5 separate regions of the Homo sapiens genome follow, and all the other regions are linked to region 1. Evidence: promoter capture Hi-C in 16 types of primary human blood cells and fetal thymus (Javierre and others, 2016). All regions are on one chromosome and are shown on one strand. The core of a region is centred on a gene start or on the middle of the fragment in contact, and the rest is flanking DNA. Distances in the headings are between cores, read along the strand shown.

Region 1 (5,977 bases), core at 739-3,238:
AAAGTTGCAGTGTTAATATCAGACAAAGTATATTTTGGAACAAATAATACTACCAGGGACAATGAAGGCAACTTCATAATGATAAAGGCGTCAATTCATGTCCATTATGTCAAAAGGACATAATAATCCTATGTGCTTATGTAACTAACCACAGAGCTTCAAATACATGAAGCTAAAACTCATAGAACTGCAAGAAGAAATACACAAATCCACAATTGTCGTCAGATATTTCAATACCACTCTCAAAAACTGATAGAACAAATAGGCAGAAATCAGTAAGGATATAGAAGATTGGAACATTATTAAACAACTTGACCTAATTAACATTTATAGAACATTCCACCCAACAGCATTCTTTTCAAGTGCACATGGAACATTTATAGATCATTTAATCCTTATTAGGTGGGTGCTATCATTATTCCCATTTACAGCTGAGTAAACACAGGTCTGAAAAAGTTTGGTAACCTTCTTGAAGGTCACACAGTTAAATGTCACAGCTGGGCTTTCAACCCAGGGTATCTGACCCAGAACTCTTAATCACTAGGCTCTGTGGCCTCCCTTGAGCACCTGGAATAGCTCAGGTCTCTAAGACTTAGAATGAAATCCTTTTTAAATAAACAACGGAATGGGAGACTCAAATAGCATTCTCTAAATACTGCTTGAGAAGGAAGTACCTTCCCCCTTTCCTCTCATATTCCCACTCAGCCCAAATGGCCTGTCTGCTTCCTTTAAGTGACATGACTTATAGGTATCATAAACTCGGGTTCCACAGCCGCTGGGACTGAAAGAGAAGACAGTTGTAGATTACAAAAGGTTGGTGGGAGCTAACTCTTCCTCAGGCTGCATCTCCGTTGGGTGGGCGGTCTAATATACATCCAAACAGAGATCAAGATGCCTGTTTGCCCCTCTTTAAATGCTGGGATCTGGACAACAACTCCTTTTCCAGGAAGGAAATGCGTTTTTATTAAAATGACATAAAGAATCCTTAGTTCATGGTAGACTTTCTTTGCTTATCCTCTTATCTCTGTTATTAGTACTATAACGTATATAGCAATCACAACACGGAAAAACGTTGGCATGTCTTCCAGGGTGAGGTTTCCTTCTTGACTGGCAAGAAAATGCCATAGAGGGGAGCACCTTTCCAATAGATCTTTGGCTGAGACCTGAGGCATGACTGTTCCAGGGGAGGAAATCTGAAACGGGGATATTATTCTGCCTTACTATGCTGAGCGTAGGATTCAAACTGCTCAGCAAATGTGAATCTTGATAATACAATTAAAAAATCAATTTTCTCTTTAATATGAATTTTATGTCTCATCTTTCCCCACACCTCTCTCGCCCCTCCTCCTTGTCCTTTCTACGGGGCTTCCATCCTGTATTCACATTCCCCTCTACAGTTAGTGACTACCTAGTTCTTGTCTCTCATTTCCCTCAGCAGCCCCTTTCCTCTTCCTGGGCTTCTTGCCCCTTCAGCGTTGTCCTCCCTTCCTTCCCTGCAGTCCAGAGTCTCAGAGGAGATCAAAGAGCGATAGTGTGGCTGCCTCGCAGCTGAGAGAATTTTCCAGCTCCCCCTCCTGGCTGGGCCGAGTTGTGGGCTGAGAGGCAGGAGGCTGGGCTGGGGCGTCTTGACTTTTGGGGGGAATTAGGAAAGAGGTGTCTAAAGCCGCGTTGTACACAATAGAAAAACAAAATTCCCTTTGTGCTAGTGTGGTGTCCCTCGGTTTGGGTCTTTGCCACACATTCTTGAAAGCCATTGTTTACACTAGCGTTTTGCAGGTTAGGAACGGTGCCGGTGGGAACCGAGCTGACACCGTAAGCGCTTCCCTGGGACTGAATTGACCCTACAATCAGTGGAGGGAAAAGTCACCCTCCGGGGGGGCCTCCAGAGCAAAGGAGGGAGGACGGCAACTGGCCAATCAGGAGGCGAGGCCGAGCCAGGCTTCCCCTCGTCGCTCGTGAGCTGCAAACAGTGGAAAGTTGGGAACCTCAGTCGCTGGCCCAGGCGGAGAGCAGCGGCGGCGGCGAGGGCAGCGGGATTCGGGCCGCGGCGCCGCAGGCTCAGAGCTGCCCCCGGGGCATGGACCCGACGCGCCGCCCGCACTCCGCCACAGGCTGTCCAGGGCCCGCGGGCAGATAGCAGTCCAGGAGGAAGCCGCATCCAGACAAAAGCTGCCGCATCCCTGCCCTGCCCAACCCCTGGAGGGATTCGAGTTTGGTGCTTGTCCCCGTCTGATTCTCAGCGCCAAACTTTTTGCTAGTTCAGAGATTCCAAGAGTCTGATGAGTTACTCTGAGAGGAAACCCTCTGCCTGTTGTTGAGGAGGACTGAGCACAGTGCTTAGGCGCTGAGGGGGAAAAAGAGGGGGAAAAAAAAGAAAATGATTTCCTGGGAAGTTGTCCATACAGTATTCCTGTTTGCTCTTCTTTATTCTTCCCTAGCTCAAGATGCGAGCCCCCAGTCAGAGATCAGAGCTGAGGAAATTCCCGAGGGGGCCTCCACGTTGGCTTTTGTGTTTGATGTGACTGGTTCTATGTATGATGATTTAGTTCAGGTGATTGAAGGGGCTTCCAAAATTTTGGAGACGTCTTTGAAAAGACCTAAAAGACCTCTTTTCAACTTTGCGTTGGTGCCTTTCCATGATCCAGGTAAGGGAAATATTTATACTTTGTCTTTGCTATGTCTCATGATTACATTATTTCTCATGCTGTGAATGAAATTGTTTGTCAGGAAGTTTCAAAACCATTTTAAAAAAATGTGCAGCTGAAAATAGTTGTAACAAAGAATTACTTGCTGGCGTCTGGGTTTGCTCATTGATACCTACTTAAGTCTCAGCCCTGGTGGAGATGGCTTGTTTAGGGAACTTGTACTGTGGTCCTCAAACCTGGAAATGTGGAGTTACGAAAAACAAAACCAAAAATCTTGGGCAACGACATCAAAATCACTTAACTCACTTAGATTTTAGAACTAAAGCATGTTTAATTACGAAGGCAGACTTGGACACGAATTTATAGCAGCGAAGCTCTAGGGGCTAACATCCAGATTGAAAGCACACTCTGAGGGTAACTCTCATTTAAGAGGGGAAAAAACCTGTTGTGTGAGACACAAGGAAGCCTGTAAGTAGTAACTACTAGTGGAACTGAAGACATGAAAAGAAAAGAGAGAAACCAATCATTTCTTAACTGAATCTATTCATCTTTGCACCAGGGCATCATTAGATAGGTTCACAGATGGGTATAAACATTACATCCATGTCTCCTGCGGTAGAATTGCTTGTAATTCGGAATGTCTGTGCTTTTTAAAGGTAGTTGAAGTGAAATAACTTCATTTTTGCCCTAAAGCCGTAGGTTTCAGCAGCTCCACTGTAATATGATCCTATTTACTTTTTTCAGTTTCTCTTTAAAGTAGCACCTCTCTGTGAGGCTTATAGGAGCCCCCATTGCCATAGCTGAGGGTAGCCTTGCAAGGGAAACCCTGGGGCTGGCAGTCTAATGTCCACCTGAGTTTCATTAGCACAAGTTGCTGCCCAGTTGAAGAAATGAAGCAGTGATTTCTTAACAGTCCTCCCCCACTGTTCTCCCACACTTTTCCTGCTTTTGAAATTCTCCCTTCACTAGAAGAACTTGACACAACCTCTTCACAACGAGAGTGTGATATCGGCAATCTGAAATTCCTTCCTGTGCATTTAGCAAAAGTATATAAGTTCAAATTATTGGTAGGTATTAAATATGGCAGGTTTTAACTATTAAACAATGGCACTGGGAGAAATTTAAAGATATATAGAACTCTCGGATTTTCATGCTCTTCACATGATGAAAACAATCTGTACTACTCTTCTGGGATATGTAATATATATATACACACACATACACATACATACATTACATATATGTAATTACATATATTTGTAATTTCTACATTGGTTAAACATGAATATTATTTATATTTGAATAAAGAATTGAATGATTATTTACTGTGTTTACTGTCTTAGACACTTCATATGTTGTGATTTTCAATGTATTAAATGTCAAGATGCCAACTGTGATGCAGTTTGAGGTTTTTGTTATTTCGGAATACCTTGAGTATGTTTCTTCTAGATGGATGAGTCTGAAGTTAGCTAAAAAATGAAGTGAAATTTTGTTTTTTCTCTAACACCACGATTTGCTTTTCACCAAAGAACTCTTATGAAATTATATTGCTGTAAACAGAATACAAAAATTGCCTCAAGTTATACATGGATACCGGACTATCCTGATATTTTGAAGTGATATGAAAACTTATTGGAATGAATTGTATTGTGGTGCCCTGCCTTTCAATTGTTACCAAATGGGAGAGTTTGCTCTTTGCTGTAGTTGACTTTCCTGTAGTTTAGCAATCATGATTTAAAGTTGGGGAAACTTGACATGCTAATAACAGATGACTGAATAAGTTAGAGCTTTTCTGAATCCAGTAATATGAGAAAATGGTTAACTAATTTAAATTGGTTTCATAAACTTAATTGTGTGTATAATTCAACAGAATTATTAATTCTGTTTACATTGTGATTCAAAGTAGAAGTGGCCAAATATTCATGTTATCTAAAGCTATTTAAAATATTTTTGAAAATAAAGAGAGAAATTGAAGTTTAAACATACTGTTAACTTTAGTATTCACTTTACTAGATTGTAGTACTTTATTTGTGTGATATTTTTCCTCTGTAGGTGTGTGTGTATAATCATTAAGAGTTTTTGGCCTCTTTGTAGTTTTTTTGTTGTTGTTTATTTTTTTTTTTTTGAAACAGGGTCTCACTCTGGCACCCAGGCTGGAGTGCAGTAGCACTATCATGGCTCACTGCAGACTCAACCTCCTAGGCTCAAGCAGTCCTCTCACTTCAGCCTCCCGAGTAGCTGGGACAACAGGCACATGCCACATCTGACTAATTATTTTTTTCATAGAGACAGGGGTTCCACTATGTTGCCCGGGCTAGTCTTGAACTCCTGGCCTCAAGTGATTGTGCTGCCTTGGCCTCCCAAAGTGCTGGGATTACAGGCAGGAGCATCTTGGAATGACAGGAAGGACCTTAAATGGGAATTGGCTGTCTTAGTGAGTGACATTAGAAAACTATATTTACTTTCTGAATCTTAGTATCCTCAACTATATAAATTGAGAGAATTCTATGTGAATATCTCTTAAGGTCTCTTCTAATGTGACAGTTAATGACTCTTTTACATATGGTTGTTTTCATAGTGCCTAACACATATTCCTATGGTTGGGTGACACAACCAACATGGAAAGAAATAATGTATAGAATTTAATATGATTATATTAATAATCTTGAATGTTTATAAGCCCTTTGACATCTATCGCATTTAGCTAGATGAAATAATGGATGAATTCTGGGATATATTCTATGTCTTTTGATATAAACCTTTAGATATTTGCAGATGATTGCTTTGGAGCCCTGCATTACAGTTTGGGGCAAGGTGTGTATTTGCAGATGGAGTAAATTTAAAACACATGGAACACATAGGTAGTGGAGGCAGGGTGTCTAACAAGTTGAAAATGAGATAAGACCATTCAGAATATGTGCATGTAAGAAGCGCTGTGTTGAACTAGCAGCACATGTGTCTAGAGTAGGAGGAGGTACCAGAGATGAACGGGGGTCATGGAAAGGCGAGCCAACCTTTTGATTTTGATGTTAACGGTGGTTAAGATGGATTTTCCACTTTCACAATCACACTTAATGTATTTATTTTTAATGGTTTTATTGAGATGTAATCCCCTTACCATACAATTCATCCACTTAAAGTGTACAATTTGATGCTTTTCAGTATATTCACAGATAGGTGCAAATGTTGCCACAGTCCATTGTAGAACATCTTCATTACCTCAAAAACAAATCCTGCACCCTTCAGCTTTCAGTCTCCTATACCCCAATCATCTTCCCCTCAGTCCTAAGCAGCCACTAATCTATTTTTTTGCTTCTATAGATTTTTCTGTT
Region 2 (5,939 bases), core at 1,795-4,294, 440 kb after region 1:
TCAACACAATTTGGATACTTCTTCAGAGACTTCATATTGAGCTCAATTTACACTGACATTTCAAGTGATAATAATCACTTACTCTGTGCTTGCTATACACCACACATATCAAAGTGAGGTTCTGATATAATTGCCATCACAACTTAATTATCAAGATTATCTCATTGATTATATCTCTATGCACATGACATAAATGTTTGCATAGATACATTTTATTTGAGCATGAAGTATATTTGTATGTAGTATGAAAGTTTAGGTGTGAGGTATTAAAATAGGGACACACAATTTAAATAAATGGATAATTACTTTATCATATATTTAATGCTTACTGTGTGCTGTTCCCTTTGCTAAAAATATCTCATTTCTCCCCAGTTGCCTGTTTGTTTTCATCTTAGTTATATTTGAATATGAAGGCAAATAGAAAATATCTGTAAGATAACCACATACTTTTGGTAAAAATTAATGCATTTATAATCAAGAAACTGATCTATCAAATTGTAGTCTTCCTTAGAATATTCAATTGCACTAAAATAATGTTGTGGGCTTTTAAATACTAGCTTCTGGGTTTCACGCTATGCTTTTCAAATTGGTTGCCTTCTTGTCCACTTAATGATTATTTATAGCAAATTCTCCCAAAAAGACTTAGCTCTGTCTTTATGCAATCCCTAGCATAATATTTTGTATGTACCAAATGTTCAAACTAATACCATTACTAGAAACTCTTTTAAAAGAAAATGCTTTTTAATAACAGGAATACAGATCATCATTTTAGTCTTCTATTTAGATATTATCATTTATATATAGTTTAACATCTTGATCAGCCATAACCGTGACTTTTCAGAATGAAATAGTTGTATTTATTCACCAATTTGGCCACCAGCTGGATCTCAGACATTGTGCTAGGGAGTAAAACAAGGAAGAATGCAGAACCATTGCCTCAATAAAAGAGTTAAAATGGCTGGGCACTGTGCTTCACGCCTGTAATCCCAGCTACTCGGCAGGCTGAGACAAGACAATCTCTTGATGTGGAGGTTGCAGTGAGCCGAGATTGCATCACTGCACTCCAGCCTGGACAATAAGAGTGAAACTATGTCTCAAAAAAAAAAAAAAAGAAAGAAAAGAAAAGAAAAGAAAGAAAGAAAAGAGTTAAAGAAACTGTCTCAAAAAAAGAGAAAGGAGTTAAAGTATTAATTTTTACCTACTAAAATAGTTTTTAAAGCAAAATTTACTATTTTATTCTACCTTCCTGTATTGTTTTCTTTCATGCCACTGTGGTAATGAATTAAAGAATTTGGTTTTCATTCCCTTTTCCAATTTATAGGAAGAATTGCAAGTACAGATTCCATGTGTTGACCTAACAATAGAAAGAAAATAACTTTTTAAAATTTTATGTGTTTGGTGAGTTTATATCTTAGTAAGAACTGATTCTATGTCCTTGTTTCCTTGATTTTAATCTGTTGGGGGAAAATGTGCTTGGCTTGTTCATTAATTCAAAATTATTAATTCAGAAAATAAAATTTTAAAGTCTGTAGTTTTGCCAGTATTCCTACCTCTAAAACTTATAATGGTATGGAAGATTAGAGACACTAGTTACCAATATTATAACTAAATACAAACTAGAGATGTGATTTCATTTCTGCTTCTGCTGATAGAATTAAGATCTACATTAGCTTTTGAACTCTGGTTTTCGTGTATTTAAGACTACGTATTCCCATATGATCTTTTTTGTTTCTACTGTTCACAGCTTGATTTGGCACATGATATCAAACCCATTCCTTCATTAATTCAACAAATGTTTATTGAGCACCTACTTTGTGTTGGATGATGTTCTAGGTTGTGGGAATACATTGCTAAACAGGGCAGACCAGGTCTCTGTCCTCGTGGAGTTTACCTTCCAGGGAGAGAAAGAAGAATCACAAAACAAATATACAATTTCAGATAGTGATAAGCACTTTAAGGAAACATAAAACAGAGAAACATAAGGAAACATAAAACATAAAACATAAAAGGAAAGGAAACATAAAACATAAAAGAGAGACCCAGATTGGGGTGGTAGCACTGTGATCCAGGCAGCCTCTCTGAGAGACTGGACAAAAGGAAAGAGCAGGCCAGGTGTGGTGGCTCACGCCTGTAATCCCAGCACTTTGGGAGGTCGAGGCGGGTGGATCACGAGGTCAGGAGATCAAGACCATCCTGGCTAACACAGTGAAACCCTGTCTCTGTCAAAAATACAAAAAAGATTAGCTGGGCGTGGTGGGACACACCTGTAATCCCAGCACTTTGGGAGGTCGAGGCGGGTGGATCACGAGGTCAGGAGATCAAGACCATCCTGGCTAACACAGTGAAACCCTGTCTCTGTCAAAAATACAAAAAAGATTAGCTGGGCGTGGTGGCACACACCTGTAGTTCCAGCTACTTGGGAGGCTGAGACAGGAGAATCCCTTGAACCCAGGAGGCAGGGGTTGCAGTGGGCCGAGATCATGCCACTGCACTCCAGCCTGGGCAACAGAGCAACTCCATCTCAAAAAAAAAAAAAAAAAGAGAGAGCAGCCACGATGGGAAGGTCTGAGCGAGTGTATTTCAGGCTGAGGAGAAGCCAGGGCAATGTCATTCAGAAAAGAATGCACTGACCATAATCAAGGAAGAACCAAGGGGTCAGGCTGTTGGAGCAAAGGTAGGCAGAGGGTAAGGAGGATGAAGAGCCCATAATAAAGAATGTGATGGGAAAACATGAAAGGTCTTGGGCAGACAAGCAATATGATATGGTTTACATTTGGAAAAGATCACTCTGGCTGCTATGTGGAGAATTAGGAGGGCAAAGATGCTTGCAGAAAGACCAAGTCATTTAAATAAAAATTTTAAAATAAACATAAAAGTAGTTACTTTTTTAAAATTATATGTGGACATATTAGAAAGCTTCCAACATTGTCAACCAGTAGAAAAATCTGAATTCCATCTGAAATATTTGTCAAAAGAGAAAAAACAAGAGAGAAATTTCCCAAATGTACACGTATGATTGTATTAAGAGGTACTATCTTGAGACTTTTTTATAAGTGAAGTTTGATGAAAATTATATTCATTTGTGATTCCACACTCTCTTGTACCTTTTTTTTTTCCAGAGGAAGATACACAAATTTTAACAATTTAAGATGTCTCTGCCTAGTTGAACTAAGAAAGCTTAGTGTAGTATTTCTAAGATTTAAAATCTTAATGTTACTCTTAGAATTACGTGTAAAAATGTATACCAAAGTAGCTTAAACTGATCAAGGAGACAAGGCTGAAAACAGAGCTCCCTAGGTCTTAAGGCCATCATAAGTGAGTCAAAGGGGTATGAACTTACAGAACTAGTGTGTCTTGTTGTCTGAGCCACTTGCTTCAATGTGAATGTTCAAATAAAATGTGTGGATATAATATAGTATTTAGGGGGAGATTTGCAGAATCTGTCCTATGTTCATAACTGAATGATTAAAGCTTTGTCAAAAGTTCACAACAGTTGAGGAGAAATTACTGTATGCCTGGCTTTGGAGGGTAACAATGTCTTCAGTTTGTTTCACAGACTCATTCTTTATTCCTGTGTTTTGTGTGTGTATGTATGTGTCTTTTTTTTTCTTTTTTATATCATGGCATACGAGCAGACATTAATGAATGTGAACAAGTGCCTAAACCTTGTGCACATCAGTGCTCCAACACCCCCGGCAGCTTCAAGTGTATCTGTCCACCAGGACAACATTTATTAGGGGACGGGAAATCTTGCGCTGGATTGGAGAGGCTGCCAAATTATGGCACTCAATACAGTAGCTATAACCTTGCACGGTTCTCCCCTGTGAGAAACAACTATCAACCTCAACAGCATTACAGACAGTACTCACATCTCTACAGCTCCTACTCAGAGTATAGAAACAGCAGAACATCTCTCTCCAGGACTAGAAGGACTATTAGGAAAACTTGCCCTGAAGGCTCTGAGGCAAGCCATGACACATGTGTAGGTAAATGTCAGCCATATTACATTTCCTTTCTGTGGGCTCTCTTACTGATCAAAGTATGTGTACAGCACCTGTGATTGTTTGAGTGCAGTGAACTACATCTGATCTCAAGTTCGGAATGACTCAAAATTTCAAGACATTTATTTTGGCACCTAAAACTATTACAGACTTGAGTCAAGTGAATTATGGATTTACATGTGGGCATTCTAATAATTTATTGTGTTATAGTCAGTTTCTTTTTGGTCACCCTGAAGGTGTTACTAAACTTAATACTAAATAGAAATAAATTTCAGTGGCATCCAGAATGTAGTTTATTTAAAAGAGGATGTAAATATTGCCACATAACGTAATGCCATCAGATTATGGCCACATCGGATTGATGGAAAAGCAGTGGTTTAAAAGTGAAAGTTTCAGCTTCTCGGTCGACTGCTTGTTCTGTATAACAACCAACATCCCATTGACTGTTGCTCCACAGTCCTCGTGGAATTGCTGTTTGATTATTGTGTATGTTTGTACGTCACTGAAAAGATAATATGAGTTGGGACAAAATTAAGTTGTTTCTATCACTCTGAAATATGTGCTTGCAGTATCTTTATCTAAATTCACAAGTCTATAATTCCATTTGTTTGCAAAAGTGAAGTATAATTTCCCACTTAAGAATTGAGACCTTGTTTTCAGTCGAGTTGCAAACATTACCATCTGTCACTCATTTAACTCAATTTTCTGTGAACATCTACAATTAGCATGTCATTGACCTACTCAAGGGGAATTAGCAAGCAGGAATTAGTTTTACTATTTGTTAGCTGGAAAAAATAAGCAAAGAAAGAACATAGGAGAGAAGTAAAGAGGGAGGGAAGAAACAAATTCCGTTTAAATTCAAAGCCCACTATGCCAGCCTCATTTTCTTACATTTCTGGAAAGCGTTCTACACTTTGCTTACTCTCTTAACTATGCTTTTTGCTAAACATTTTTTAAACATTTCTTCTCCTTCTATCTTCAATTTTTTTTGTTTCTTTTTCTACCCTTGCCCAAGCCCTGTTACTTCATTATTATCTTCTCAGATGGACTTCTTGGTCAACCTTAGGTGGATTCATCTTCCCATATCATCTCCACTCAGTTGGGCCCTCAGTCCCTCTGGACACTCAAACTTTACCCTTTGCTTTTTAGGTTCATATTTTTTCCAGCACTTTTCTGTCTTTTTTACCCTGATGTATCTGCAGCTTAATATAAGGGATGTGGAAACTTCTCCCTCGTGATTAGCTTACCAGAATTGTTGACAGTGCTCATTTCTTCTACCACCAAACATTAATGCATTAACAATTCTCTACATTTTGTCCCACGTGGTCAAATACTGTTTAATTGCTAAATATGTGGACTCCAGTATTCTTGCTAGTATATTAAACAACACTGTCAATCTGCTACAAACTGTTCTGAGTTTTGGGAAATTTTATGCCCACAATTTTGATCTGACTCTTCATTAAAGTTGTTCACTATTCTCTTATTGACAGAATTAACATCTGATATTTTGTCTTTCAAAGTTTCTTCCAAATAGTCATCCCCACTAGAGGGTTTTCACAGCCTAGGTAATAGGTTACCATCCCATTCTCAACCTTCATTTTAGACAAGCACTTTCTTTTGTTCTACCTTTACTTTCCTGCCCAAAAATCTGTGTTATGAAAAATAAATTTAGCCACACCCTCCACACTATACACCATTAGCTGGTTTCTTCCAAATTATCAGAAGGTCCAAGTTATTTTAAGAAAGCTTCCTGATTAATAACCCACTTCTCTACTTCTTCATCACTATCTATGGCTGCAGTTTCATCATAGTAGAGTCTTATAAATGTTTTCTGTCTTCCGTTTATGTTAAACCAATGTTATGTTATCACAATCGTCTTCCTCAGACAGTCATCTGCTATTTGAGGCAGCCACTCTTTCACAGTAAGGGTCAATCTTG
Region 3 (6,256 bases), core at 2,901-5,400, 460 kb after region 1:
TGAAATTTATCTTAAGCATGCCAGTGGTTGAGCAGAGGTAGGCAATGAGATCAATCACCAACCCTGAAAGTTCCCTTAGGATACACGGCAGGGTGGGGAAACCCTCCTTCATGACATCTAGCAGAGCTGCGAGGAGCAAACCTTCATCTTGTATATTGCTATGACAGTCCTCTGAGCCTGCAAATTCCACAGATACACTAGATAGGATGACTAGCAGAAAGGGGAAGGTCTCCAAAGGAAGGAAACCAAGAGAGCAAATGAGAGATCTAATGGGTAATCTTTGACTCACATACATTCAATCCCTTATACGCCAAATGAAGTCTACCTACAGTATAATTACTTAATCCGATATTAACCTAAACAGAAGTGTGATCTACACCAACAGTCAACATACTTTTTTCTATGAAGATACAGACAGTAAATATCTTAGGCCCTTTAAGCCATGTGGTCTCTGTGGCTACTACTCAAGTCTGCTGTTTAGCATGAGAGCAGCCGTGGATGGCACATAAACATGTGCTCCAGTAACACTTTATTTACAAAATCTGGCTGGATTTAGCCTGCAGGTCATAGTTTACCTCTGATCTACAAACTGGGTATAAATCTTTTTATCATTCACAACAGCCCAATCTGAGCTCAGAGCACACATGATAGTCAAGGCTCTGACCAGTTTTGTAGTAGGCTGCTGGCCTCAGCACGTGCAAGCCTTCCACATCTCTAAAACCTGTTCTCAAGCTTTACATTAACCCAGCTGCAGACTTAGCTGTTAGGCTGGCAGTCATATCCAAGCCCCACTCTCCCTTCATAAATGCACACATGCACACAGGAGCATGCTTTGCAGGGTAGGATAACAGCACATTTACCAGAACTTACCATTTCACATTTCAGTTCATCTGAGTGAGTCAGGTAGGCCAAAGATTGACACTCCTAAAATACAGACCCATTTGTCCGGCTGGTTACCTGACATTTTCACTTGGCTCCTTAACTAACTCACTCAGACTTACACATCCAGCATATGGTTGATCCAAACCCCAACCACATATCTCCTGCTCTCTAGCAGCTGTCTAGTTGCAGTGGGCATGTGACTCCATTCTGTCCAATAAGATGTAAGCAGAAATCGCTTTAAAAGGGGTAGTCTTTGTGGCATACCAGTTTGGCCTGTGTTTTTCAATCTTTCCATACTCAGAATGTGGACAGAGATTTGCCAAGCATCTTGCAACAATGGGGCAACCACCCTGAGGATGAGAAGGGAGGAAGGGAGGGAGGGAGGGAGGGGAGGAGGAGGGGAGGGAGAAGGGAAGGAGGAAGGGAGGGAGGGAGGGGAGGTAGAGGGGAGGGAGAAGGGAAGGAGAAAGGAGGGGGAGGGGAGAGGATGGGGGAGGGGGTGCTGAAACCTTTTATATGACTTTGTTGAACCACTCTGCAGCACTGGAATAACTACCCCAGGACTTGTAATCGTTTGAGTCTAAAATCTCCTTACTTAAACAATTATTTGTTGGACTGTCTCTATTTACAGCTGAATACCTGAATGCCTACCGAATGATCCTCCAAACCTTTTCCTACCCTAGTCTTTCCTAACTATATTAATTGTACTACCATTCATCTAATCACCCCAACTGAAGCCCTGGGATTCACTAACTTCTCACCACCTAAAATGTACACATTCAGTCCATCAAAATAGAAGTCTCCGTCTCCCCTGCTACCATCCTAGGCATACCATTGTCACATGATGCACTCCTACCCAAGTTCCTCCGCCACTCCTGCTCTGCTGTACTCCATTTTCTACAAGACTGGTCTTTTAAAAACACCTATCAGATCACATCACTCCATCAATAACTCTCCATTCTTCTTTCCTTTTATAACCTAAATGTGTTAGATGATCTAGTTTCTCCCTACTATGTCAGCTTAGGTAAGCTGGAACTACATTTCCTGTCTCTGAAAGTTTCAGAGCATAGGCCACATGAGACATGTAGCATGAGATTTGAAAAGTATAAGTGAAGCTGCAGCCACATTGCTTTTACACTTGGAAAGTCACTGCAGGGGTACCAGGTACTGTTGCAAGTCATGGACCCCATCATTATCTGCTAGCTCCTCTCGGTGGATCAGGACAATGGTGGCCCCACAGCCATTCTACTTCCCACTGGATCCTTCATCTTCTACAATCCCTGAGCTAGATGTGTGTCTACACCTGTAACAAAGAACCCCAGCTTTTCCTGCATGAGACCTACATCATTGAAGTTGGAAAATTAAAGATGGTGAAAGATTGCTATGGACAGAATTGTCTCCCCCAGATGTATACGTAGAAGACCTAACCCTCAATGTGACTGCATTTGGAGATAAGGCCTAAGGAGTAACTAAGGTTAAATGAGGTCATAAGGGTGGGTAGGATTAGTGCCCTTATAAGAAGAGACACCAGAGATCTCTCTCTCTCATGTGATGACACAGTGAAAAGGCAGCCACCTGCAAGCCAGAAAGAGTGCTCACCAGAAACCAAACCCTGCCAGACCTTGACTTGGGCTTCCCAGCCTCCAGACCTGTAAGAAAATACATTTCTGCTGCATAAGCTGCGCAGTCACTTGTACTTTGTGATGGCAGCTGAGCTGACTCATACAGAGACCAGCACAGGTTCTAGTCCATCATGGGTTCTATCCATGTTTGTGGGTTTCAGTTCCTCTCATGGATTATTTTAGTGAAAATGGAGAGCACAATAGGGTTGCCTGCTTGCTTCTAAGTGCACTGAAGAAAGAAAATAATGAGCTCAGGGCTTTATTCCCAACACAAAAGGGAAATGAAGTAGAATGGTGACCCAAAAGAAATCTTTATCTCTTATAACTGCAGGGCTAAGGTTTCCAAACACACACATACACACACACACACACACACACACACACACACACACAAACTAATCCTGAGAGTGGCTGAATTACGATGCGAGTTAAATTCCCAGCCCCATGATGCCTCTTATGATAAAGTTAGGACATGGATTGAAAAAGAAGTATGGCCCTAAAATTTGGGATGGAGACATATGAGAAGATTCTGATGAAGCTGGAAACCTTGAACTCCAAATTTGATATGTTTTCCTTGCCAACAGCTTTCCCTCTTCTCTGAATTTAGTCTTCCTTGCCTAAATAACCTGTAATGGCCTCTCTTGAGGTCTGTTGCAAAAGACAGATGATCCTCTCTGGAACTGTCCCCATTACCCCTTATTGCTCCTAGACCTACAGCCAGACTCATGTCTGTGGAATCCAATAACAAAAAAGAAACAAAGCATATATTTTATATATCTTTTTCATTTTACTTTTCTAGTTATTTGTATTATATTCTATGAAAGTAACCATCTATAATAGACTACAACTTAAAAAAAAAACAGATTGGAACTTAAAAAAAATTACCAAAGGTAATTTGAAAAACATTGCATGGCACAACACCACGAACTAAAGATTATAAGCCAGTATTTCACAGAGAGGGAAGCTGAAGCTCAGAGATTAGATAACTAGCTGCAGAGTCATCACTAGTAGGAGATGCAGAGTTAAGATTTGGACCCAAGTCCATCTGACTACAAAACCTAACACTTGCCAATACTCTGAATAAGGAAACTCCTCTTAATCTGTTCAGAAACATCTGCTTACTTCCAACCGTTACCACTGAAGTATGAAGGTGACCATACTGCTCAGCTTGGTGCTTCGTCAAAGTGCCTTCAAGTCCTCAGGTCTCCCAATACACTGGGACATCAGCTCTGAAGATTAGTGTGGTTGCAGATATTACTTATCCTTCAGAACCAACTGTTGGAGTTCAGCTATGCATACTCTAGGGGTTTGGTCTAACATTTTGTTAACAGTTTCTGAATTCCTCTGATGAATCTGAAGGAATGAGATGTGATGTCAAAAAAAGTTTTTAGCACTCCACCTTCTCTATGCAGGAGGTTGAGGTTTTACAGTCATGATTAAGTCAACTGAAATCACAGAGAAAGACTGACAATCAGTTGGTTATTTATCTGGAAGGTCTCAAGACCTGAGTCACTGTAGCCCTCACAAACAATCACCTGCAGTGGCTCCCCTTATCCAGGGTAATCCCAGATTTCCCCATAACTGGACCCCAGCTTACCTTTTCAGTATTTATGTCATAATAATTCTGTTGTATGTACCCTGTTTTCCATGTAATGATACCACACATTTTCCATAATCCAGGTTTTCTTCTATTTTTACATGTTAGAATGTTCTCCTTTCCAATTCCACATACTCATTTCTCGCCATCTTCAAAGCCCTATTTAATGCCACATCTTCCATAGAGTCTTCCCTAATCTTTTAAACAAAAGGTCTCTCTTCCATCTCTTAAGTCAGTCTATCTCCGTACCTCTCATTTGGCACTTCTTACCTTCTGCTTTGTATTATGGTTGCTTGGCACATGCATTTTCTTGTCTACTAGACAGCAAGAGCCTTGAATCCAGTTCATCCATTATCCTGCACTGCTCTTAGCATGGAGCATTCTAACTAATATTTACCCCACACACTAAGTGCAAGGATGACTGACTAATCAATGGATTAAGATAAAAAGAAACCCAAACTTTATCATGATTGATATGGTTTGGCTCTGTGTTCCCACCCATATCTCACCTTGAATTTTAGTAATTCCTACATGTCAAGGGCAGGACCAGGTGGAAATAATTGAATCATGGGTGTGGTTCCCCCATGCTGTTCTCACGATAGAGAATTCGTTCTCACAAGATCTCATGGTTTTGTAAGGGGCTTCCCCCTTTGCTCGGCTTTCATTCTGTCTCTTGCCACCCTGTGAAGAGGTGCCTTCCACCATGATTGTAAGTCTCTTGAGGCCTACCCAACAATGCGGAACTGAGAGTTTATTAAACTTCTTTCCTTTATAAATTACCCAATCTCAGGTATTTCTTCATAGCAGCTTGAGAACGGACTAATACAATGATCAAAGCAATCCATAGGTTCAATCATTCATCCATTTATTTATTCAAAAAGTATAGACTGAATGTCTACTATGTGCTGGGCTCACTGATAAACATGAGAAATCCAAACATTTAAAGATATTTATAGCCCAGTGAGAATTCATATGTAAAAATAAACAATTATAAATTATTATAGTAATTACAATAGAAGTCAGTACAAAGTACAATGGAAAGATAGGGAACAGAGTCCTAAGTCCACCTGAGAGAAGCAGAAAAGAGTCCACATTTCAGAGAGTAAGGAGGACAAAAGGACGTAAGACACACCCTTTCCTTTAAGAAAATTTCTCAGAAATTCCCACACAATATTGTTATTTATATTTCATGAGCAAGAACTTAATAGATAGAAGAAAAGCAGAGAAAGATAGTTTTTTGGTTGAACTCCATGCTCTGTTCTATGAAGAAGAAAAGACAACTAGGAATCTGCTACAAGGTGCTGCAAGAACTGGAAATGGGTACCAGAAAGAGGGGGAAGGGGTTCCTTCTTCCCAAACTGTGAAAGAATGGGGGAGATGTTTGATGACAGAGGAAACACTGGGTCTATCTGTTTTGTTTTTAATATAAGAAAGAGCCAAAGGCTATAGGGTGATTAAAGATAAAGGAAAGAGAGAGTAGAGCAATATTCTAAAAGACATGAAAAGATTTTACTCTAAAGCATAGAAAGGGGGATAATAGATGAACAAGAGGAGTTGACTTAGTCTTCTAGGGCTGCCATAACAAAATACCACAGACTGGGTGGCTTAGACAACAACATTTATTTACTCACAGTTCTGGAGGCTGGAAGTCCTAGATCAAGGTGTTGGCAGGTTTGGTTTTTCCTGAGATCTTGCTCCTTGGCTTACAATGGCCGCCTTCTCACTGTCTTCCTATGGCCTCTCTGTGCCCCCACATCTCTGATGTCTCTTCCTCTTCTACAGGGACACCAGTCTTACTCACATAGGACCACACCCTTATGACTGCATTTAACCTTTATTACCTCCTTAAAGGCCCTATCCCCAAATAACCTCACTTTGGAAGTAGGGCTTCGACAGATGAATTTTGGGAGGACACAATTCAGTCCATCACAGGAGTAAATGGCAGAAAGAACATAAGTATAGGTGAAGTGGAGGTTGGTTGTCAAGATTGTGTGCAAAATAAAGCCATATGCTGAGGGTTTGAGAGTTTAGGATGGGGTAAATTTTTGTGATAGCTCCTATGGAAAATAGAAGATGGAGCGAATTAGAAACATCTAAAGGATGACTTAGCAGAGACAGAGGTCCAGCTGACATTGAAAAATCAAACATTTCTGGC
Region 4 (6,078 bases), core at 960-3,459, 400 kb after region 1:
TGGCAGAGCTTTTTTTTTTATTATACTTTAAGTTTTAGGGTACATGTGCACAACGTGCAGGTTAGTTACATATGTATACATGTGCCATGTTGGTGTGCTGCACCCATTAACTCGTCATTTAACATTAGGTATATCTCCAAATGCTATACCTCCCCCCACCCCCCACAACAGGCCCTGGTGTGTGATGTTCCCCTTCCTGTGTCCATGTTCTCATTGTTCAGTTCCCACCTATGAGTGAGAACATGCGGTGTTTGGGTTTTCCTCCTTGCGATAGTTTGCTGAGAATGATGGTTTCCAGCTTCATCCATGTCCCTACAAAGGACATGAACTCATCGTTTTTTATAGCTGCATAGTATTCCATGGTGTATATGTGCCACGTTTTCTTAATCCAGTCTATCATTGTTGGACATTTGGGTTGGTTCCAAGTTTTGAATACTAGTTCAACCATTGTGGAAGTCAGTGTGGTGACTCCTGGGGATCTAGAACTAGAAATACCATTTAACCCAGCAATCCCATTACTGGGTATATACCCAAAAGATTATAAATCATGCTGCTATAAAGGTGGCAGAGCTTTTTAATTACAGCATATTCAATGGAGTGCCCCTTCTTACAATTCACCACAGTTATTCCAACATGCTTAAAAAGATTGCCATTTATGGCACTTTAAGATATTTATTAAAAATAAAGACTAATGTAAAGGAGCTCAAAAGTGCTCCAGCTTGATGGCTGTCATCTTTCATGAAATAACTAAACGTTCTGGGTGAGATTCTCATGCTCATCAGGAAGCCCTTCAGTAAGAGTCATCGGAAAACAGAGCATCCATAATTGGATAAACATAAAATAATCCAATGGCCCACTGGAGAGTTTACAGAACCACTTAAGGGGCTGACCCAAAGACAATGTCACTGGGTTGAGAATTTAAGCAAGTCAAGTCATTTTGTGACTAGGCTCAGTATTTAACAGGGTGAATTTACATTTTCTTCATCACTATTGAGAGATGCTCTAGATTAGTTAGCTGTTTGCCAAACTATATAATTCTGTAAGACTCGAATAGATGGATAGACATTTAATAAGTATCTAATACAATGTTTCACTAAAGAACATATCTATCAAATGATAACATGGGATGTCATTAGGAAAAAATAGGGTTCTATGTTCAAACAAACCTGAGAAAAAATGAATTAAACAGAGTTCTTTTATTTATTAAATATATAAAGAACAGTTACTATGTGCTCAGCCCTCCTTAGGCATACCAAATTTCTTTACTGCAGATTTTCCAGAAATGTTAATATGTTGGTGTGAATTATGGCTCAACAAGGAGAGAATATAATATGCCACATTTTCCAAATAAATGTTGAGTGAACGTAGGTAGAACACTACACAATCCACTGACCCAGTTTAAAAAAAGCTACATTAGAGCAGCTCATCTGCACATATTGACAATAAATTCATTTTAGTAAGTGAGGCATATTAAATAGTCAAAAATATAATTTGGTTCAAATTAGGATTAAAGTACCAGAAGCGATATTTTTATTTAAAGTGTTCATATTTATTATGTGAATGATGAAATTAATTCAATTGAAGTATGTACATATGGAATTTTATTGTATTAATTTATAGCTTCATATGCAATTGGGAATGTTCAAGGATGGTATCTAAATTAAGGTTCTGAGTTTATTTGATAATTTAGCCATTTTAATACGAGCAGACAAGCTTATTTAGTCATGTTGTCACTTAGTGTTGAGGGATAAACCTGAGGTATTTACTTTATGCAGCAACAGTTTATTGAATACATAATGTAATCAGGAAACTAGGAGAGAAATAAAAGCACTGGCCCTGAAAGTTTCTAGAGTGAGGTTAATATAAACATCAGTTAGAAGGCATTGTGTAGGGTGATGAGCATAAGTCAGAGTAATGCTTTATATGACATTTGCTAAGAGAGTCAAACCTCACATGAAGGAATTACTTTTTTAAAAGACAACATGTCACGGATACCTTTGCAGAAAAAAACTAACATATTAATATCACAACAAAACACATTTTTGTTCTATTTTTGTCTTATTTGTATTCTATTTATTCTAGATACACTTCTCAGTCTAAAATATGCAGCCACAACCTTGAATTATCTATTACCTCTCACTGAACAAATCATTCTGCCTTTCAGTTCAATGTCACTAAAACACTGCTCTCATCCCATCATGCTCCTTCTCAAGAATGTATATGCTGCCCCGTTTGCTTTCTTATTTAAATGAAAACCTTTCTTATTTTAGGATTTGAACCAATGTTCACAACCCTGTATGCTGTTACTCTTCAGGGTGAACCTTCCTTTCTATTCTGTTCATTGTCTTGAAAAAGAAAAAGAGCTAACTCCATCTCCATGTTGTGTCTTTCTCTCCAAGTGTTCTCCCCTCTCCTCTCTGTTCAAATAACCTTACTTATTTTTGAAAATCCAGTTCAACTCTCTTTTTCCCAATGAAGTCTGTCATATTCTGTCATCTGTCTTGGCACTGTAGACCAATATAGACGTAAACATTCTGCCAGCAGTTGCATGCAGTTCCTTTTACAATCTTTCCAAGGACTTTACTTCAGCCATTGTCATTCACTATAGACACTGTTAATATCTCCCTCCTTCCTTTTTGGTTACCAGAATACCATTTTTATCCTGATTTTCTTCCTACCTCAGTGATTCGTTCTGAGTATCTTTATAAGCTTGTCTTCTGTCCATCTCTTAAATAATGCTGTTGCAATGGTTTCTGTCTTTGGCCGTCTTCTCATTTTAGACTCTCTTCTGAAGCAATCTTATTCACTATGAAAGACTCACACATATATATTTCTTGCTCATCTTTATTCTGAGCTCTAGATATGAATATCCCTGTCATGTAGACATCGCTATATGAATGTCTTAGAGATACCTCAAGTTCAGCAGTTCTAAATGGATGCAAATTATCATTCCTTACTCCCTATCCACAAATCTGTTCTTCCTGTTGTGTGCTATTGCATTGCCCAAATATACCATATTGTCCAAATCAAAACCCTGCAGTCATGAGTTCTTCCCTTTAACCCATACCAATCCGTAACAAAGTTCTATCATTTCTACTTTCTTAATAATTCTTGGATATGTCTTCCTTTTCCCCTCCATTTCCAGTGGCATGCTTTTGTTTGATCTATTATTTCTATGGTTTATGCTCCCATATTAGTACACGTTAGTTCCATAGGTATGCTATAGCACAAGTCTGTCTTATCAGTGGACTGTGAGCTCCTTGAGACTAGAAAGAATATCTTTTCTCTATATGCTCTCAGCATCCACCACAATGCCTGGCAAATAGCAGGCTTTCAGTACATGTTTATTGAATAAATGATGGCCAGTGGTAAAAGAATGAGTTAATTAGCCAGGCGTGGTGGCGGGTGCCTGTAATCCCAGCTACTCAGGAGGCTGAGGCCGGAGAATTGCTTGAACCCTGGAGGGAGATGTTGCAGTGAGCCGAGATTGTGCCATTGCACTCCAGCCTGGGTGACAAAGGGAGACTCTGGCTCAAAAAAAAAGAATGAGTTAATGACTCTTTACCTCAAAAATGATCAAAAGAAAAAAGTGAATATTCACCATATAAAACACAGACAAAAATAATAGTAACTAAGAGCACTGTGTGCTTACCTTGTTCAAAAGTTGTAGTCACATCCTCTTGTTGAGTCTAACAGGAATCCTCTGAAGTAGGCACCATTTTTAAGGACATGGGGCTCAGAGAGGTAGTAAGGAGCAGACACAGAATTTGAATCCAGGAAACATGACTCTAGAGCCCATGCTCTAGGCTAATCTCAGGAATTTTAAATTTTTGACATTTACTAAATAAAAAAGAATTATGAAAATTGTATTAATGGCAATTATAATCTATAATCTTAGTTGGGAAGCAACAGTGTTTTATAAACAAATCAATCACTTTTTTCAAAATAATGTCGCCATATAATACATGATAAAAAAAAATGCTGTAACTCCACAAAAACTGAGACACTATGTGCTTTTTTCCGTAGGTCCTCCTATTATCACTCTTGAGCCAGTGGAAACTGTTATTAATGCTGGTGGCAAAATCATATTGAATTGTCAGGCAACTGGAGAGCCTCAACCAACCATTACATGGTCCCGTCAAGGGCACTCTATTTCCTGGGATGACCGGGTTAACGTGTTGTCCAACAACTCATTATATATTGCTGATGCTCAGAAAGAAGATACCTCTGAATTTGAATGTGTTGCTCGAAACTTAATGGGTTCTGTCCTTGTCAGAGTGCCAGTCATAGTCCAGGGTGAGTGTGATCAGAGGAATATTCATAGTAAACAGTACCTGGGGTGACTCAAATCATGGAAATTATTAAGCACTTTAGTCCAAGTCTCCTGTCACCTTAACATACTTTTAGATGATGGGGAGAGGACAAAATCATCAAAATTTACAGATTGAAGGGCCTAAACCAACACAGATTAGAGCTTTAAAATGCCAAGGTTTTAATTTAAAATCCCAAACTAGATTTTTGATTCACAACTAAATCTATTCTTAGAAATCAATGTATATGTTTTGCTGCAAAGAATGACTTATGTCCAAAAGGTGAACAGTTTGTAAACTTGTTGGTCTCTAACTCTTCCAGCAGCCATGTGCAAGTGAGTGAGGATTCGATCTGAGAAGAAACTTTGGCTAACTGAAGTTCTTCTCTCTCTCTTGGATTTTAATTTTCCTTAAAGGAGAGCTTCCATACGCTATTTCTCAGCAACTATATATTTAGCTCTGTAACCCGTGCATATCTTAAATGAAATCTCCTTTACAATGTTTTATTTGCAAAAGCTTAGACAAAGTACAATGTTTTATTTGCAGTTCATGGTGGATTTTCCCAGTGGTCTGCATGGAGAGCCTGCAGTGTCACCTGTGGAAAAGGCATCCAAAAGAGGAGTCGTCTGTGCAACCAGCCCCTTCCAGCCAATGGTGGGAAGCCCTGCCAAGGTTCAGATTTGGAAATGCGAAACTGTCAAAATAAGCCTTGTCCAGGTACACCTCCTTATTTAACTGATAGGCATGTGTTTAATAGACCTTCATTTCTGTCTTCTACCTATGGATTGCCCCAGTGTAAGTATTCCCAATTGAAATATACCTGATGGTGTAATGGTTCACCTTTGTATAGTGGATGGTAGCTGGTCGGAATGGAGTCTTTGGGAAGAATGCACAAGGAGCTGTGGACGCGGCAACCAAACCAGGACCAGGACTTGCAATAATCCATCAGTTCAGCATGGTGGGCGGCCATGTGAAGGGAATGCTGTGGAAATAATTATGTGCAACATTAGGCCTTGCCCAGGTGAGAAACCACCAATAATGCTAAGATAAACAAAACTTTTCTATCTTAACCCCTATGAAAGAATTACATTTGCCTTTTCTTCTTCATTGTAAAAAGATGTTATGGCCTCTACCCTTGAGAATATGTTCATTCACTATATTCTTAGTTCTCTTTCATGGATAAACTTGTAAAGGTATGGCATTCATTGATGTTAAGCAAAATACCTGCTTTAATTGAACTTGAAGAAAGGGTCCAAACTGGAGTGTATTTCTCAATCACGTAAAGAAAACATAAGTATTTACAAGGTCATAAAGTAACATCTAATCCAGCCATCCATTTCGAGGTGAGAAAAATGAACCCTAGAGAGGTTAAAGACTTGCCCAGAAACACACAACTGGTGAGGAGTAAATACGAATCGCTGTCATTCACTAAATACTTGCCACATAATAGGAACCATGCTAGGTGCTTTATATTGTTAATATTGTGTATTGTTATTGATTTTGTGTTTTAGCACTCTTTCCAATTAAAGTGACAAATCAAACAAGTCCAAGTAGAAAATTTTCAGGTATAATTGAATCCAAGGATTTGGACAGTGCTTTTACTAGCATGTTTTCCATCTCTCATCTCTACTTTCCTCTCTTTGGCTTTATTCTCTATTAAACTCTTTCCATGTGGTGGAAACAATGGCTGCTGACAGCTACTGGCTCACAGGGGCCTTATAATCTAAGTGAGGCCTCAGAGAAAAAGAGTTCCCTTGTCTCTCAGAAT
Region 5 (6,027 bases), core at 2,774-5,273, 490 kb before region 1:
TAATTACTTGAATTTTAAGGCTAATACAATTTGTTACTCTTTCATCTTAAGGACACCTAGCACTAGGGATAAGAAAAGATTGGTAGCTCTGCTACCTTTTAGCATGTGACCTGGGGTGATTTTTTTTTTTTTTAAACAGAGTATTACTGTGTTTCCCAGGCTGGAGTACAGTGGAGCAATCACGGCTCACTGTAGCATCGAATTCCTGAACTCAGGCAGTCTTCCCACCTCAGTCTCCTGAGTAGCTGGGACTACAGGTACATGCCACCACAGTCAGCTAATTTTTGTATTTTTTGTAGAGATGGGGTTTGCCATATTGCTCAGGCTGGTCTTGAACTCCTGGGCTCAAGTGATCCTCCTTTCTTGGCCTCCCAAAATTCTGGGATTACAGGCATGAGCCACCTTGCCTGGCTTGGGGAAAATTTTTAAAGCTATCTTGAGCCTCAGTGTTCATAAAACAGCCATAATAATACCTTCCCAGAGCATTTCATGGGGTTACTATTGTGCTTTGAGAGCAAGGTGTTGGTATTACTAACCATCAGCAATTCTTAACTTGTTTGTTGGGGAATTTGTTACAAATGTAAAGTTTAAGGTTTTATCCCAGACTAACTTAAATAAAAATATCTGTAGGTATTTGTGTAGAGCAAGGAAGTTGTATTTTTAAGCTTTCCAGGGGATTTGTATGCAGGTGGTGAGAGATCACATTTAATAAAACTAATGCAATTTTTTGTAATGTTACATTAGAGAATGCTTTTCTCTTGAGCTACCAGTAGGGAGCATTGTGAATAAACTGGTTTGCTTAACTCACCATTCACTTATCAACAGGAAACTACAAAATTGTGAATTTTTTTTTTTAAACCGGGCAGATAATAGGCATTTAAATTAAAATTTAATAAAAGTTAATAATTATTTTTTCAAGTGTACATGTAGTGCTTAAAATCTTTCAAGAAACAAAATCATGTTAAATCAAAAGAAGCTCAGTTTAAAAATTTTTTTGCTAAATATTGTTTTAAAATTTTACAATTTAATTTAAATTTAAAATTAAATATTGAAATTGCATGCAATTTGTAGTGACTGCAAATTAGCATTTTTGATGCTTGCTAAAATGACCTAGTTTCATTTGGTTTTGAGATGCATGCTCAGTGATTATATGTTAGCTCTATTCCCTTTTATCTTAAAAATAGTAGATCATATATAGTGTTATATTGGGGCTCGATAATCAGGTGATCTTTAGCTTGGCCTTTCAGTTAAAGAAGTGAATGAAAACATATTTGATAGACTAACAGCTTTGGGTTCTAGTTCTAGATTTATCCCCTTGTAGCTGACTTTGGGCATGTCATTTACCCTCTAAGTCACAGTTTCTTTCCTTGTTAAATGAGAATCCTGGTACCTTCTTTAGAAGAGTGTATGAAATGATGTATGTGAAAATACTTTCTAACTATGTTTACATGCGCTAATCTTGCTTTTTCCTTAAAGTTGATATGTGAAGTTTGAAATGTTTAAAATGTGTATTTCAGTTTTAAGAAAACTCTAAACATGATTGTGGTTAAGATTGAAAAATTAGTGGAGCAGTTGTCGGTATGGTTATATATTTGGCAGCAAAATACCTAATTTTGCAAAGTTAGAAAAGGGATGAGGATCTTGCAAATTCCTATATTTTCTGAACACTTTCTTTTTAGGTAGGAGAAGAACTTCAATTAGCTTATTTGCTATTCATTTAGAAATTGCTTCTCTCCTCATCTTTTCTTTTATATGTATACAGGATTAATTTGAGCACTTTTGTTAATAGTTTTCTCATCTAACCACTAGATAGCCAAGGACAATGTTGATAATTTTTTTTTCAGATAGACAAAAGTGTTTTAAGATTTGTTTTTGGTCAGTACTACATAGTCTTAATTTATACTTTTGTAAACTTATGTCTAGATTGATCAAGTAACTCTTAAGACCACAGAAACCTTTTGCTTAGTATATAAAGATGATAAAGTTTCATTTGGAACAAAATTAATTGGAGAGTTGAATTGCAAATTTCTAAAAATAGGGAAAGTTCTACTTTCTATATTGATCAAAAACATTGTCTACATGTATTTTTGCTTAAACTGTCATCTTTGCAGAGTTAACTAAACAGGTCATGTAATCCAACTCTGAGGCACACTGTAAATGCGTGCAGCTTCAACTTGAAAGCTAATATTCAAAGCAACAATACAAGTGTTGTAGATATGTTTCTGTTTCTGTGAAATAGATGATGAGCTAGCTGCCTGATTTAGAAGCTAAGAAGGAGGGTGAAGGTGAGAAACTTTAACTTGCTTAGGTTTTATGTTTGTATTTCACCTTTATAAAATAAGGTAGAAATTATGTTTTAAAAAACAAAAAAAGGTAATATTTTAAATCCAAAAATATACTAGCTCATGCCCAAATATGTTTGGTTTAACATGTAAAACTTTGCATATGTGAGTTTCATGAACTGAAGTAGCTTTATTTGAAATGTTTGAGATAATGAGTGTTTTCTTGGTTTATTATTTTGACTCATATTTGGGGTGGGAAAGAGGCAGAGGGAATTTCTATTCCTTATAAATAGGTGCATTTTGAGGACATGCTTTTATATTAAAAGATATCTCAAGTGTATATAGCTTAGTTTTTTTTCTAGCTGTCATTTTGTTTGGTCATATTTAAATTTAGCAATAAATGACTGCTAACCGTTGTGTTTGGACATAATCATATGCTGCATGGGCATTTGTACTTGATCATAGAACAGGATTTTGGAAAATAAAACCTCAGTTTCAATTTAGGAAAGGAAGATGATTAATTTTTATTGAGTTGTTTAATCTTCTAAGTTTTAATAACCTCTGTCACATTCTTGTGGCTTTAGTTTGGAATACTTTAGACAGCTATTTTTCTAAAATAATTGCAGTCATGAAGTTTGGGGTTTTTTGGGTGTGATTTGCATATATTTTGTTTTCTTATTAAACCTCTAAAAATTAATTTTCCTTTTAATCTCCTACCCCATTTTAACGTAAGAACAGACCATATATGGTATATTTATGCATTATTTCTGGGAAAAGAAACCTTAAAATCACAGTAGCTTTTCAGATCCACTAATATGCTTCAAAGATACTGATTTTTGCTTTTGAGATAAAATTTTATTAACTTCGCCTCTTTGACTTACTGTATATATTGATAGTTGACCTCTTAAGATTTTGGAAAAGGTTATTTAGAATAGGTCATCCTTTACTTTACACAAAGATAACACACTTTAGGCTACTTCTTTAAACTAGTTGTTGAAACTAAAGATTCTGTCACAGGCATGCTAATGTGTAGAAAATAAAGACCTTAAAAACTTCATCCTTTGAAGTTTAGAAGTGACTTTTTAGACTCTGAACTCATTGCAGTGTGCAAAATATTCAGCCATTGTTATCTAGAGTGGAGGGGTTTATTCATGTTTGTGTCTGACCTACTTTCTTTGAGGCTTGGCCTTTTCACCCTTAGATAATTAGGCTTCACCTCCCACTCTTCAGTTAGGGTTTCACAGCTCCTCAGATATCACTTAGTTACCTTCTCAGACTTTCAACACCTTGTCCTTTCATCACCAAGTATATCAGTTGCTTTGTTGAGTAAGAAAAAATAATACAATTTATTGTTTAAAAATGAAAAGACTTAGTTGCTTCATCCTTCATGCCACCATTTTGTAAAAAATAATTTTATTTTTTATAATTTATTTTATAATCAGTTCCTTAATACTTTGAATGCCTCCAGGGCAGAAACTGTCTTACTTTTCTGTATCTGGAGCCTTGCACAGGTAATGACACATAGTAGATGGTCAGTAAGTGATTATTTAATGAGTGTTTTATAGTCTTTGTGATAGAAGGCAACTTTTTTTAAGGCTGAATGCTAATTATACTACATTATGACATTAGATGAATAGTTAATGTAGAGGTTTTAAAAGAGGTATAGAAGAGAGATGAGCAAGCTATGAAAGGTTAAAGAATAAGAAAATCAGGAGGAAGGAGAAAGACTGGAAGAGAGAGAGATTAAGGAGATTAAAAAGGCATTTATGTCTGGAGCAGATGATGGAGCCTCCAGTAATTCACCCAAATGTCTCTTCGGGTTACATTGTTATCCTTGATTACTTTATCAACTATAGATTATTACTTATGGATTACTCTCTAGATCAACTATGTAAAATAGGGCTAGTAGAAGGAAAGATAGGATCTAATGGAAGAGTTAGACTCAGGGAATATAAGCAGGCAGTTCTTGTTATATTATAGACACATATAAGGTCATATGTGTAAAATATAGACAGTTATTAAGAGCTTTTATGGTATCTATATTGCAGTTTGACAAGCACAGTTAATGTGTATATCAAATTTTAAATGTAATATGTAATAAAATTTTTATTAAAGTAGCTGATAAAATACGTGGCATTCACGTATCAGTCGGACTGAATTTTTCAGTAACCAGCTGATTTTTTTAAACCTGGGTCTGTATGTTACTGAAGATAATACATCACTATGACTTAATTTTTAGAATAACTGGATTTCATTTTACATATCTAAAACTCTTATCTGTGTTTCCCAGCATTTGTCATTCAAGAATTGGAAATAAAGACCTTATATTTACCTTTTAAGGTAACCTCCGCTGATACTTATATCAGCGGAGAAATGCCGCAGTTATTCCCATCGCCCCTAGAGTGGACTTAGGTGTTAGTGTTCCCTTGGCCAGTATAATTCAGTTTTGGATGACAGAGTTAAATGTATCCCATCATAAATTATCAAATCACATCCAAATTAAGCAATTAAATATAATATGAAGATTACTTCTTGAAGACAACAAATATTTTAACTTGTTTATGGAGTTTTTATTTATAATCTGTTCTTTTATTTAAAATTTACTTCTTGTTTTATACCTGACTAATTCTACCTAATGATTTATTGTTCTGATATTTAATTAAAATTCCTTGCTATTAAGTCTCGTTTTAAGAAATGCTAAAACCACCAGATGGAATAAATGACCTAATAAGTCAGTGATGTTAAACACCAGTAAAAGAAATGAAATTAGGGAGAAATCAATAGAAGGGTCTGAATAAGGGCTATCATAATAATTTTAACTTAAATAACAAGTATGTATAGTAAGTATATGGGATAAAGCCAGATGATCAGTTCTAATTCATTCTTACAAAGCAGTTATATAAAAGGCGTAAAGGTAGAGTATACCCTATACTCTAGGATACATTCTAACTAGTTGGGTTTTTGTTTGTTTTGAAACAGGGTTTCACTCGGATGCCCAGGCTGGAGTGCAGTGCTGTGATCTCAGCTCACTGCAACTTCCACCTCCTGGGCTCAGGTGATCCTCTCACCTCAGCCTCTGGAGTACTTGGGACTACAGGCATGTGCCACCACACACAGCCTATTTTTTGTACTTTTTGTAGGGACAGGGTTTCTTCATGTTGCCCAGGCTGGTCTTGATCTCCTGGACTCAAGCAATGCATCTTCTTCAGCTTCCCAAATTGCTGGGATTACAGGTGTGAGCCACCACATCTGGCCTAGGATTAATTTTATCTATTTTGAGAAATATATTCTTGTGCCTCTAAATAACTTTTAGCACCTCAGTAGGCCAACCAGCTGCCAGTAGTGAGAAGTGATACAATGTCCTCAAGGGTGTTTTCCAATAGTAAGAAAAGTTTGATTTTAACTCAGGACAGTGTTTTCCACATAGATGGTACTCAGTAAATACTTAACCGTATATCAGAAACCTCTGGAATTATTAAACATTTTGATGCGCCAATCCCTGTTAACAAGGCATGTTAAACCTTTTTAGAATCAACATATACACTTTCTCTTAACAATAAGGTAACTGGAACTATTAAGTTTAAATTGTCTGATTTTTTTGCTAATATTAAGCTACTTTATTACTATTTAAATATATGTAGTTAATGTATTATTTTTGACAGCATGTAGCTATATATTTTCTCCAGCCAAATTGTTGAAATAAGACAAATAAGTAAAATAATCAAAATTATGTTTATTATTAAAG

The links. Contacts are between HindIII fragments. The CHiCAGO score rates a contact against its expected background, and 5 or more counts as called.
Region 2: a contact is called between a fragment that was not itself captured here and the fragment with the promoter of HMCN1 in region 1, in 2 of 17 cell types (M1 macrophages and megakaryocytes). The highest score is 5.5, in M1 macrophages.
Region 3: a fragment that was not itself captured here is called in contact with the fragment with the promoter of HMCN1 in region 1 in 2 of 17 cell types (M1 macrophages and M2 macrophages); the score reaches 7.6 in M1 macrophages.
Region 4: a contact is called between a fragment that was not itself captured here and the fragment with the promoter of HMCN1 in region 1, in 1 of 17 cell types (M1 macrophages). The highest score is 5.6, in M1 macrophages.
Region 5: a contact is called between a fragment that was not itself captured here and the fragment with the promoter of HMCN1 in region 1, in 1 of 17 cell types (neutrophils). The highest score is 5.1, in neutrophils.

Annotation. Positions count from the first base shown.
Region 1 is chr1:185,732,403-185,738,379 of GRCh38, forward strand. It overlaps HMCN1 (hemicentin 1), which reads left to right and starts at 1,989. Exons shown (of 107, transcript NM_031935.3): 1 at 1,989-2,645. The coding sequence starts at 2,378. The HindIII fragment of the contact is 13,332 bases long and covers 1-5,977 here.
Region 2 is chr1:186,174,781-186,180,719 of GRCh38, forward strand. HMCN1 (hemicentin 1) reads left to right here. Exons shown (of 107, transcript NM_031935.3): 104 at 3,636-3,986. Among named protein-coding and RNA genes, the nearest start is that of PRG4, 120 kb to the right of the region's middle. The HindIII fragment of the contact is 261 bases long and covers 2,915-3,175 here.
Region 3 is chr1:186,191,972-186,198,227 of GRCh38, forward strand. No RefSeq gene overlaps it. Among named protein-coding and RNA genes, the nearest start is that of PRG4, 100 kb to the right of the region's middle. The HindIII fragment of the contact is 6,841 bases long and covers 731-6,256 here.
Region 4 is chr1:186,132,642-186,138,719 of GRCh38, forward strand. It overlaps HMCN1 (hemicentin 1), which reads left to right. Exons shown (of 107, transcript NM_031935.3): 87 at 4,027-4,296; 88 at 4,857-5,027; 89 at 5,161-5,331. Among named protein-coding and RNA genes, the nearest start is that of PRG4, 160 kb to the right of the region's middle. The HindIII fragment of the contact is 996 bases long and covers 1,712-2,707 here.
Region 5 is chr1:185,237,873-185,243,899 of GRCh38, forward strand. All of the region lies in intron 16 of SWT1 (SWT1 RNA endoribonuclease homolog), which reads left to right. Among named protein-coding and RNA genes, the nearest start is that of IVNS1ABP, 76 kb to the right of the region's middle. The HindIII fragment of the contact is 6,721 bases long and covers 664-6,027 here.